2 separate regions of the Homo sapiens genome follow, and region 1 is linked to region 2. Evidence: promoter capture Hi-C in human tissues and cell types (Jung and others, 2019). All regions are on one chromosome and are shown on one strand. The core of a region is centred on a gene start or on the middle of the fragment in contact, and the rest is flanking DNA. Distances in the headings are between cores, read along the strand shown. Region 1 overlaps MYLK (myosin light chain kinase). Region 2 holds the start of MYLK (myosin light chain kinase).

Region 1 (5,044 bases), core at 1,005-3,504, 170 kb after region 2:
AAAGTGAGTTCAGAATGCGGGGGCTCACCATTCCAGGCCTCTGGAGGAGAGGAGAAAACAATTTACTCCGTGAAAATTCACTTTCATTTTACTCTACTTGCTTAATTATCTTCCTCTCCACACTGTAAGCTCCCTGCAGGGAGGGATCACGTCATACTGTGTGTAGAGCCAGGCCTGCCATGGGAGCATGCATTCCCTGAATGGATGAGAGCACAGAGGTTGCCGAACCTCCCCTGCAGTGCAGGGAGGCATTCCCTAGAATTCCTCGCTTTTCTGGGGGCTCAGTGCCCATTAGGGTGTGCAGGAAATCTGCAAATTACCTTCAAGAGTCCCTCAACAGGGCTAGGCACAGTGTCTCATGCCTGTAATCCCAGCACTTTGGGAGGCCAAGGCAGGTGGATCTCTTGAGCCGAGGAGTTCGAGACCACCTTGGGCAACACGGCAACACACCGTCTCCACAAAAAACACAAAAATTAGCCGGGAGTGGTGGCCCATGCCTCTAGTCCCAGCTACTCAGGAGGCTGAGGCAGGAGGATTGCTTGAGCCTGCGAGGTCGAGACTGCAGTTGCAGTGAGCCGTAATCACACCACTGGACTCCAGCCTGGATGACAGAGCAAGACCCTGTCTCAAAAAAAAAAAAAAAAAAAAAAAAAAAAAAAAAAGAGTCCCTCAACAAATATTCCTTCTTTCCCCAACACAGGCTAGGGAAAAAAAATTCCCCAATAGTTAACCAAGCAATGAATGTCTTTCCTCCTGACCCAGGATGAGTCCTGATCCAGGATGATTAATTCAAATTCCTGCAGAGCCCAGGAATATCTGAAATACAGTATATATTTCACAGCGTTTGGACTGAGTCATTGCTGGGGGCTTCCTTGGGCTAGAATATTTAAAATTTTTTCCCCCTGGAGTATCTCCATCAAGGCTAAAATTCTTAAGTGTCTAGATTTATTAATAGCCTGCCAGTTGTGCCCATTTGACATAGTTTCTCAGCCTAACGGTTTGTTTATTTAACTGAAGGCCTAGTGGGCCTGTTTAAGGCATCTAAGGACATAAAATGTGGGTAGGTTAAAAAGATGAAAAGATCATCTCTAGAATAGATAATAAAATATAACAAGCATATTTATTAGAGTATTTGTTTTGATGCAGAGCTTCTAATGAAGACAACAGGCATCAGTGAAGTCAGCGTTTGCTTGGCAATGAGTAGAGGCACAGTTTGTTTTCAGATTAATACCAGGCACTCTGCGGGGCAGCCTGGAGCCACCTCCTTTGTCTTCCCTGGTTATGCACAGGTACTTTGGACACTATACAATCTATCCAGTTAACATAACGTATGGATCCTGACCTCCTCAAGCTTAAAAACACTGACAACTTCTTAAATACTTACATTGGCTACAGAAAAATATATTGAAGAAGAATAAATACCAGTTTTAACTTGCCTTTTTTATATATATTAAGAAGCTTAGTTTATTCAAAACATCTGTCCACAAGCCTTTAAACTGTAAGAAGGCAAGCAATTAATTACATGTTAAAATTTATAACCAATATTTTCATTTTATGTAGGTTGAGTACAGAATTGGGTTTGTGTACCACATGGGTTCTTTGTGTTACAGAAAGACTTCTGAGCATATACATGTACGTTTGTGCCCATGCCATAGAATTTGAGCCTCATTTTACTAATAGGGCCATTATAGAGCTTTATAACTCTCCACCTCTACAGCCCATAGTCAGTCATAATTACATAGAGACCCAGATCAAGAATGCTATCCAGAATCGCAGGATTGAGCTCCTAGTGGCAAAATGTGACCCATGTGATGACAGTGTAACTGAGAGTGTGGCTTCCAGGCCCGCACTGGGAGGGAACAGTGGGTGGTTTGGATGCCATACCTTTATGTTTAGAGTGTGATTATAGCTTCTAAGACAGTGGAAAGGCTGTGGTTTCAGTGATCCTTGCTTCCCAGCTAGCAACCCTATCATTACTGGTCAGAGATCTTTTTTGGGATATTATACGTCATTGTTCCTTTCATTCTTTTCCTCGCACACTTCTCTTCCCATTTGCTTCTTAAGTTCTGGGAGGAAGGGAGGCCAAAAGAAAACAAGGCTATGGGAGGAAAAATCCTTTTAATGCCACAAAGTAGCCATTTTGCTGACTTCAAGAAGGTTCTGTTTGGTTAGGAGACAGACTTTTGTTTAAGGGGAATTCAGATGCCCCGGGGATTTACAGCTTGCACAAACCCCCTGGAAATGGGAAGGGGCTGTGTGGCGTGTCAGCAGGGAGAATGTAACTCTTCTTTGATGAATCCTCCAGAGTTAACAATCCTGGAATTTAGGGAAAGGAGGAGGCTGGTGGTGATCCCTGGACCATGCTGGATTTTGAACTCCAAATAAAGAAAGATGGGGGCACTGTGCTTCCATGGTGCCCCCTCAATTGGTGATCTGTTGAATTTCCATAGTATAACAGGGTTTGGAGTGAATCAGAATTGCTGTTGGAATGGCATTTTGCATTGTAATAACTAAGGAATACAGCTCATGTTCAAAGCCTAAGGAAAATATTTGGTAGATCCAAGATTAAGGCAAACATGTGTTGAATGCAAATTTGGATCCAGGACCTTGGGGCTTCAGAAAGTAGCAAGTTGACCAGCAAATGTTGGCAGGTAGAAAAACACACTTATAAGGAGAAATTCAGAATTTAGTTGTTTTTCCTACTAAAACAACGGAAAGAAAAGGAAGGGCTGTGAAGGGAAGACAGGAGAATTATTGTAGTGCAGAAGGAGATGGCAGATCCTGGTCAGCCACCAGGACAAAGGCAACAGTGGGTTCCTAGTGTCAGGTCCTAGAGGAGGTAAAGGCCTCACTCCTGGTGCTGGGTTTGAAGAAGAGGCTTTACTGGTTATTTTATAAGAAGAATTAGTGCAAGAGGTAGCAAACTGCTCCTAACTCTTCCTCTAAATAAAAGCTTTCCAAAACGCCATGTTGGGTATCAATTTATATTAGGTTTTTAAAGTAAAACCACTATCAATTTGTTTTTAAGAAGGAATTGTTTGATAGGAAAGTCTAATTGGCTAGAAAAGCTGGCTTGTTTTATTTAATTCTCACAACAACTCCACTTGACACTTCCGAATTCACTTTACAGATGAAGAAAGTGATGCTCAGGAGGTGATGTCAGCTGCCCACAGTAGTCCAGGTGATCAGCAGCAGCACCAGGCCACCACCTGCTTCAGCCCATGGGCTTTCTGCATGGCTGCTCTTGGATCCTGATAGGTCATTTGTTTGATGCTTTTGCTTCACCAGAGCGATCATTTCATGTTTAGTTTCATGACTAGGAACTGGCTTCAAAAACAACTTCTAGTGAGTCAAAAACAGCCAAAATGGCAAGGACGGAAAAACTCCATGGGTCAGTAGAATCATAAAGGGGAGAGTGCGTATATCTGTCTGTCTCTCATTCTCTCCCCCTTCCTTTGCTTCCCTTTTCCCCCTCTCTCTTCCTCACATTGCCTCTTTTTCTTTCTCTTCTCTCTGTTCTTCCCTTTCTCCATTCTTGCTCTTTCTTAAGTCCTATTAACAGCTTCGTCTACATGGCATCGTTTTTACTTGTCAGCAATCTGCTTGGGCTTATTCTTAGTCATTGTGCTTGTCTTTCCCATTGGACGACAGCCCGATCAATCCTTTTCCATTCTGTCAAAATGGGACAGTGGCAGTTTAATGACTGAGTCCAGGAGTGAATTGGCTAATACCAAGTAACAGAGCAACAGATAAATGCACTTTAGATCCTTAATCCTAGGCAAGGAAAGCAAGGAGACTCAGCCCTTTCTGCACTCCAGAAAGAAGGCCCTCTCTGGGCTCAGTCTCAGCAGAGCAGCAGGAAGCACAGCTGTGGGGAAACCCGGGGTATATTTAGTTTGGCCCCATTTGAGCTGGGCAAGTCTGTCACTGGGTCTCAGCAAAGCATCCCTTGCTATTTGTGTGCCATGGCCAGTGGGTGTCCTCCCAAGACGAAGAAGTCTTGGGCTCTCTGAGACAACCTTGTCACTGGGGGCCTCTTGCCTCAGACCCTGGTCCTTAAACCAGGATGATGCTAGAAGGAGGCCAAGGACAAGCAGAGAGGAGTGACTCCCAGGGTAATGGGTAGCTCTGGACATGAATATGGATGATGACAGAAAGCTCCTCACAGAATTGAGACCTGCCTCTGCTCCCAGGACAGTCAAGGGAAAGCACCCAGACCAGGACCCCACCAGCAGCATCTCCCTCCTCATGGGGCATCGCAGCCCCAGGACCTTAGGACAGGCGAGCTTCTTTCTCTGAGTCTCAGCTCCCTCCACTGTAAAACAGACACAATCTGCCCAATACTTCCGAGATGTTGAGGGTAACACTGAATTAGCTATGAACATCTTTTGGAATCCTGGAGCGCTGGGCTTTATAAGGAATCATCGTTACATGAAAGTTCTGGTTTGGGGGGTTTTTCTCATTGGAGTTATTATCAGGTTGAATTTCCACAACCAAAGGAGTTAGTTGGGTTGGGAAAGTCAGAAAACATTGATTTTTATACTGCTTGTGTGCCATGTATTGTTCTAGCTGTTTTATATGTTACTTTCTAATCATCTAAAACCCTGCAATATTACCATGCATTAGACTGATGATGCAGACATCATACTTCTCAGTATTATGTTGCCATAAGTTTGGAGGAGAGAACACCGAGGCTTGCTTTGGGAAGGTTGCTTCAGATCACACAGCCAGGGCCACGAGTTAAGAATGCCAGTTTCCATCTGTCCTTTCGTATTTTACTTAAGTCCACAGAAGAGTGAGCAGAAACTGATAGAGGCTAGAGGCCAGAGATGAGCCAGAATAATTTGTTTGGCTTTGGAATGAATTGCAATACACACACACACACACACACACACACACACACACACACACACACACACACATTGTGTTGCTCTTTTCACCTGGCTTGTCTCTGTTCTGCTTTAGTTTTTCTCAGTTGTCAAGGATCTAGGATGTGGGTCAGCTGACAGTGTGTTTGTCCTGGAGCGGTCACCATGGGCACCGT
Region 2 (5,082 bases), core at 983-3,482:
TAGCTGGGTGTGGTGGCACGTGCCTATAATCCCACCTATTCAGGAGGCTGAGGCAGGAGAATCCCTTGAACCAGGGATGTGGAGGTTGCAGTGAGCCGAGATCGTGCCACTGCACTCTAGCCTGGTGACAGAGTGAGACTCCATCTGAAAGAAAAGAAAGAAAGAAAGAAGGAAAGAAGGAAAGAAGGAAAGAAAGAAAGAAAAAAAGAAAGAAAAAGAGAGAGAGAAGGAAGGAAGGAAAGAAAAAACAAAAAAACTAGAGCTTCTTGGAGAAATGGCTGATTCCAGGTTTGAGGCAGCAAATGTACAGATGTGCCTGGAACATCTTGTCATATCAGATAGCAAGGAAGCTATCAAAGACTTCTAGGGTCTTTGAAGCTCTTTGCACACTAGTGAGAGAGAGAGAGAGAGAAAAAAAAAAAGACTACTAGAATCTTATCAAAAGGAGCCAGGAGCCATATTGAAGAAGCTCCTACTGGCCAAAGATGGGACAATTTGAGCTCTAATATCGTAGATGGAAACCTATCAAATATATTTAAATTCATGAATTTATAATGATATTAAAGAAATCTAAGAATGACAGAGAATCAATTCCTTAACTTGAAAACTGGGTAATTTTTTTAAAAAAAAGCAGGTATTCATCGTGCCTTTCCTATCTCAGGGTAATCAAATAGTAGATGAGAGGAAGCATCTCCTTATCCACTTATGAACTAATAAATGAAAACAAAATTATTAGAATACCATGATTTTGCAAACTTCAATTAATTAATGAATCTAGGAATTGAGCATCGACGGCTGTTAACCTCAAAAAAGAGCAAACACCAGACATCATGATCATGTACCTCTTGAAGAAAAGAACACACAACCATCTATAATCTTACAAAAGACATCAAACTTCAGTCTGAGGAAGACCCTGGATCAGCTGCCAACTTGCTGTCAATACAGAGGACAGAGAAACATGCTGAATTGCCTCATGAATGTGCAACCCCCAGACTCTGGAAAACCTCACAGATCAAGGGCTTAAGTTATTTAACAAATAATTGTAAGGAAAAGACTGAAAAGGCAAATCAAATTAAAAAAAAAAAGAGTGGGGGGAGGGGTAAGGTGCACCCTTGGAAGATACCAAGAAAAACAAAAGCAGCAGAAGTGACTACATGAAAGTCAGGTTAGTGGTTACTTTTGGGAGGAGGGAGAAAGGGGGTTGTCATTGAGGTAGGGCACATGGAGAGGCTCCTGGGGTGGCTGGCAGAGTTCTATTTCTTGATCCAGGTGGTGATTACAAGGATGTTCCCTTTATAATAATTCACTAGTCTATATATCTATATATTTGTTTTTTGTGGTTTTCTGTATTTATGTTTTATTTTACAATTAAAAAATTTTTAAAAACACTCCTTAACCTGCAGTAAACAGTTTTTTTAAAAAAAACAAAAGAAGGTCCAAGTGAAGAGATCAGAAGCTATAAAATATTTCATATTGGGTGCAAACTAAATATAAAGCAAGCCAAAACCAGAAACACCTCCTCCCCCTCCCCTCCCCCCCCTCCCCTTTCCCCTTTTTTAATTTAAAGAACTTTGTAGGTATCTTCCAAACCAATGAGAGATTCTTAACACACACAAAGGGAGGATGTCAGAGGAACCATGGGGCTGAGTTGCACCACTGGAGGATGTCTGAAAAAAACTACATAGACAACCTTCCAGCACTAAAACTTTAGCCCCATGGTTCCGCTGACATCTTCATTTTACAGATTAGAAAACTGAGGCCCAGAGGCAGCCAGTGTCTCATGCACGCTCACGAAGCTAGCATCAGACCCCGACCTAAGGCCTAGGTCTCCCAGTGTAGGACTAAGACACGCACCAAGACAGTACCAGCCCGCTGACCGCCGCCTGCGAGGAGTTAACTGGGGCGGTGCAGGATAAGTGCGAGGGGGGCCCGGGTCTGGCGCTAGGTTTGGCTGCGGATTCTCCGCTCCGGACTCCGAGGCAGAAGGCGGGTGGGCGTGGCGGGAAGGGCAGCAGGTCCACTCCCCGAGCGCTATGCAAATGTCATGCAAATCAGTGCATGGGGGCTGGAGCGGGTGGTTTGAGTCCTGACCCCGTAGCGCCGCGCTCTCACTCGCTCTCCTCAGCGCGCGTCCGCTCTCCGCTCTCCCACTTGCTCTCTCTCTCGCCGGTTCGCTCACCCCCGCCCCGCCCCGCCCCGCCCCGCCCTGCCCAGTCCCGGACGCGCCTCGCGGGCTCCCCGCGCCGCCCGGTCGGCAGCAGGGCGCTGAGCGAGCTCGGAGCCCGCGCTGTGCGCCTGCGGCCGGGGCGCCCCGCCGAGCGCCGGTGCCCCGGCTCCCGGGCCGCCTTCGCCGCGCGGGTGAGTGAGCCCGCCCCATGCTTTTGTCCAGGCGCGGGCCCTGGAAGTCAAGGCTCCGAGGGTGGGAGTTCTGGGTGGGGGCTGGGACCCCCACCGTCTGTGCCTCCCGACTCCCCTAATGGAGAGGGGCCCCGGGGTGCGGCGAGGAGTCAGGGGCGTAAGGAGACGACCCCAGTGACGCCAGGCTGCACGAGTTTTCTTTTGGGGAGATGAAGTGCTTGGGGACACTGATGCGATTGCCTTTCTAGGAATCATCCGAAGGGGGTGCCTTTGATTTGAGGGGCGGAGGAGAAGCGGACCCTTCTCCCAGCTCCCAGACCCTCGCTAGAGGACTCGGTGACGGCCTCTGGGAAGGGGGTGCCACGTGAAGGTCCTTCCAGCCCAAATGTGATTCCGGGAAGGTAGGGCGGGGAAGGCGGCCCGCGAGTGCCAGACCTGGCCATCCCAGGCGAAGCTGGGGCGCGGGCTTTGCAGACTTGTTCCTACTCCATACTCCTCATTTAAGCTCCTTACCTCGCTCTGCCTCCTTCGCGTTAACTGGGGTCCCATTGTTGAGGGACCTTGTTCGCCGATGATTGCAGTTGGAAAGTTTTGGATAAACTTCTCAGGAGATGTGAGTTGTCAATGGTTGAGGTAGACCCCTCCCTGGAACTTATGGAACTAAAACCCTTCAAGACCCAAAGGACTGAATTTCTAGGAGTGGCATTGCAGATGTGAAGATGGGCTGATGGGGAAATGGTTTCAAGGATATATATTTTTTTTAGATTGGGGTGTGTGTGTTGGGGTGCGGGGCACTTTCTATTTCGTAGCCAGAAGGAGAAGACCCAGCTCTACTAGAGTCTAGAGGGAGTAAAATTAGCTGTTGTGATTCAGGGAGCTGGGTGGGTGTAGGGAAACACCTGGGCAGTGGGCATGATGCCAGACCTCAGGCCGTTGGTTTTTACCATCCCTCCTCTCCCCAAGTGCAAAGACCAGAGTATATGCAATGACCCGCCCACCCCACAGCCTTTGAGAGCCTGCCCTGGAGCTGCATCCCCCTTCCAAGAGAGGCTGTGTTCTTCTCCACCTGAATGGAATACTTTTTGTCAAAATGCACTTATCAATAAATTATTTCCAGATGGTGGGCTTAGGAGGACCATTTGGGGAACCCCGCCCACACTTCAAAGAATCAGGAATCAACAATGCAAGTCTCTGGGAGAAGTGTAGGTGCATCTGGTGACTTTACTAGGTTCCTACAAGGCATTTAGGGTTCTAATAGAACTGTTTTCTTTTCTCTTAAATTCTTGACCTCCTTCTCTCTTCCGTGATTCTCTTAGTCTCTTCCCCGCCTGCACACTGTGGGACTGTGGAGGATGATGCTGCTGGCACCACAGTGCTCTAGGGCAGCATGGAATTTTCCTTCCTGCCCAGAGTGAGGTTACCCCTTTTTCTCCCACTCTCAGTGGGCCAGGAGCCTTGGGTCTGGGAGGAACCTGAGCAGTTGGTCCTGGGTCCGGAGTGGTTGGACTCTGGATGCTGGATTGGGTAGCGGGTACTCTGGGGACATGCACAAGAGCTTTTTTTGCCAAGATGTGCAGGTCTGTCTCATTGTTCACTGATGATACAAAGGATGCTGGACCTCATTTGCAGCTAAGCATGAGCTTGGAGAACCACCCCACAGTGGGGAAGCATTTATGCTGGTTTATCTCCCATGTTCAGTTTCTTTTGTGTAATAACTGGCTAGCTGAGGAGGAGGGTAGCTGCAGCATTGTAGATGTTTCCTTGTCTTATTTTTATTTTTATTTTTTATTTTGAGACAGGGTCTGGCTCTGTTGCCCAGGCTGGAGTACAGTGGCGTGATCTCAGCTCACTGCAACCTTGACCTACCAGGCTCAAGGAATCCTCCACCTCAGCCTCCTGAGTAGCAGGGACTACAGGTGTGTGCCACCACACCTGGCTAGTTTTTTGGATTTTTTGTAGAGATGGGGTCCTACCATGTTGTCCATACTAGTCTAATGGGCTCAAGTGATCGCCCACCTCTGCCTCCCAAAGTGCTGGGTTACAGGCATGAGCCACTGCACCCAGCCAGAGTAGTTGCTGTTTGTGTGAGGTTTGCTCACCCCTTCATCAGGGGCTGCTTCCCCAGGGGCCAGATCTTAGAAAACATATGCAGAGCAGACTAGGCCTTGGAACATTCCTAGGCTAACTGGTAAGGCCAGGTGGCCCCACCTGCTGCCTGAAAATGGTAGACAGACAGCTACAGTCACTGCAGAGGAGGGGCTCCTGGCTGGCAGGTGGCGGGGGTAATCTGCTGAGAAGGCTTGTCAGAGAAGGAGGTGACCCAGATGGTGCAGAGGGGAGAGGCCTTTGAGTTCCAAGGGTGGGGAAAGGTTCTGGGTCTCTGGCTAGGGAGATCTTTGCTGGTCTCAGAGGCATAGATTGTGAATGCGCTGGGGTCACCATATACTCAGTGTCTTTGAGAATGACCCCTTGCTTTTATCCTCAAAATATAAGATGAGCCTAGAGTTTGAAACACAACTAGTTGGCTTGTCTGTCTTTTAGGAAGTTCATAAGGTGGGGTGGGGGTTTCAGAATGCAGCCTTGCTTGGGGACATGGGTACAGTGTCCCATGAGTATGGGGTGTCTTATTTAGTATCTTTCTGAGAACAATACTTGGGAGTCTGGAAATATAAGCCTACTTGGAAGCCCAGCTGCACCTCTCACAGCTCAAACCAACCCACACAG

The links. Contacts are between HindIII fragments. The study calls those that stand out against the background at their distance.
Region 1: a contact is called between a fragment that was not itself captured here and the fragment with the promoter of MYLK in region 2, in 2 of the 25 tissues and cell types used here (mesenchymal stem cells and thymus).

What each region holds. Positions count from the first base shown.
Region 1 is chr3:123,713,458-123,718,501 of GRCh38, reverse strand. The region is part of intron 13 of MYLK (myosin light chain kinase); the gene reads left to right. It overlaps LOC105369194 (a long non-coding RNA gene), which reads right to left. Exons shown (of 3, transcript XR_924417.4): 3 at 2,102-5,044. Among named protein-coding and RNA genes, the nearest start is that of MYLK-AS2, 26 kb to the right of the region's middle. The HindIII fragment of the contact is 3,875 bases long and covers 317-4,191 here.
Region 2 is chr3:123,881,482-123,886,563 of GRCh38, reverse strand. It overlaps MYLK (myosin light chain kinase), which reads left to right and starts at 2,232. Exons shown (of 34, transcript NM_053025.4): 1 at 2,232-2,358. It also overlaps a transcript of CCDC14 not described here. RefSeq lists a silencer at 2,193-2,352. The HindIII fragment of the contact is 8,771 bases long and covers 1-5,082 here.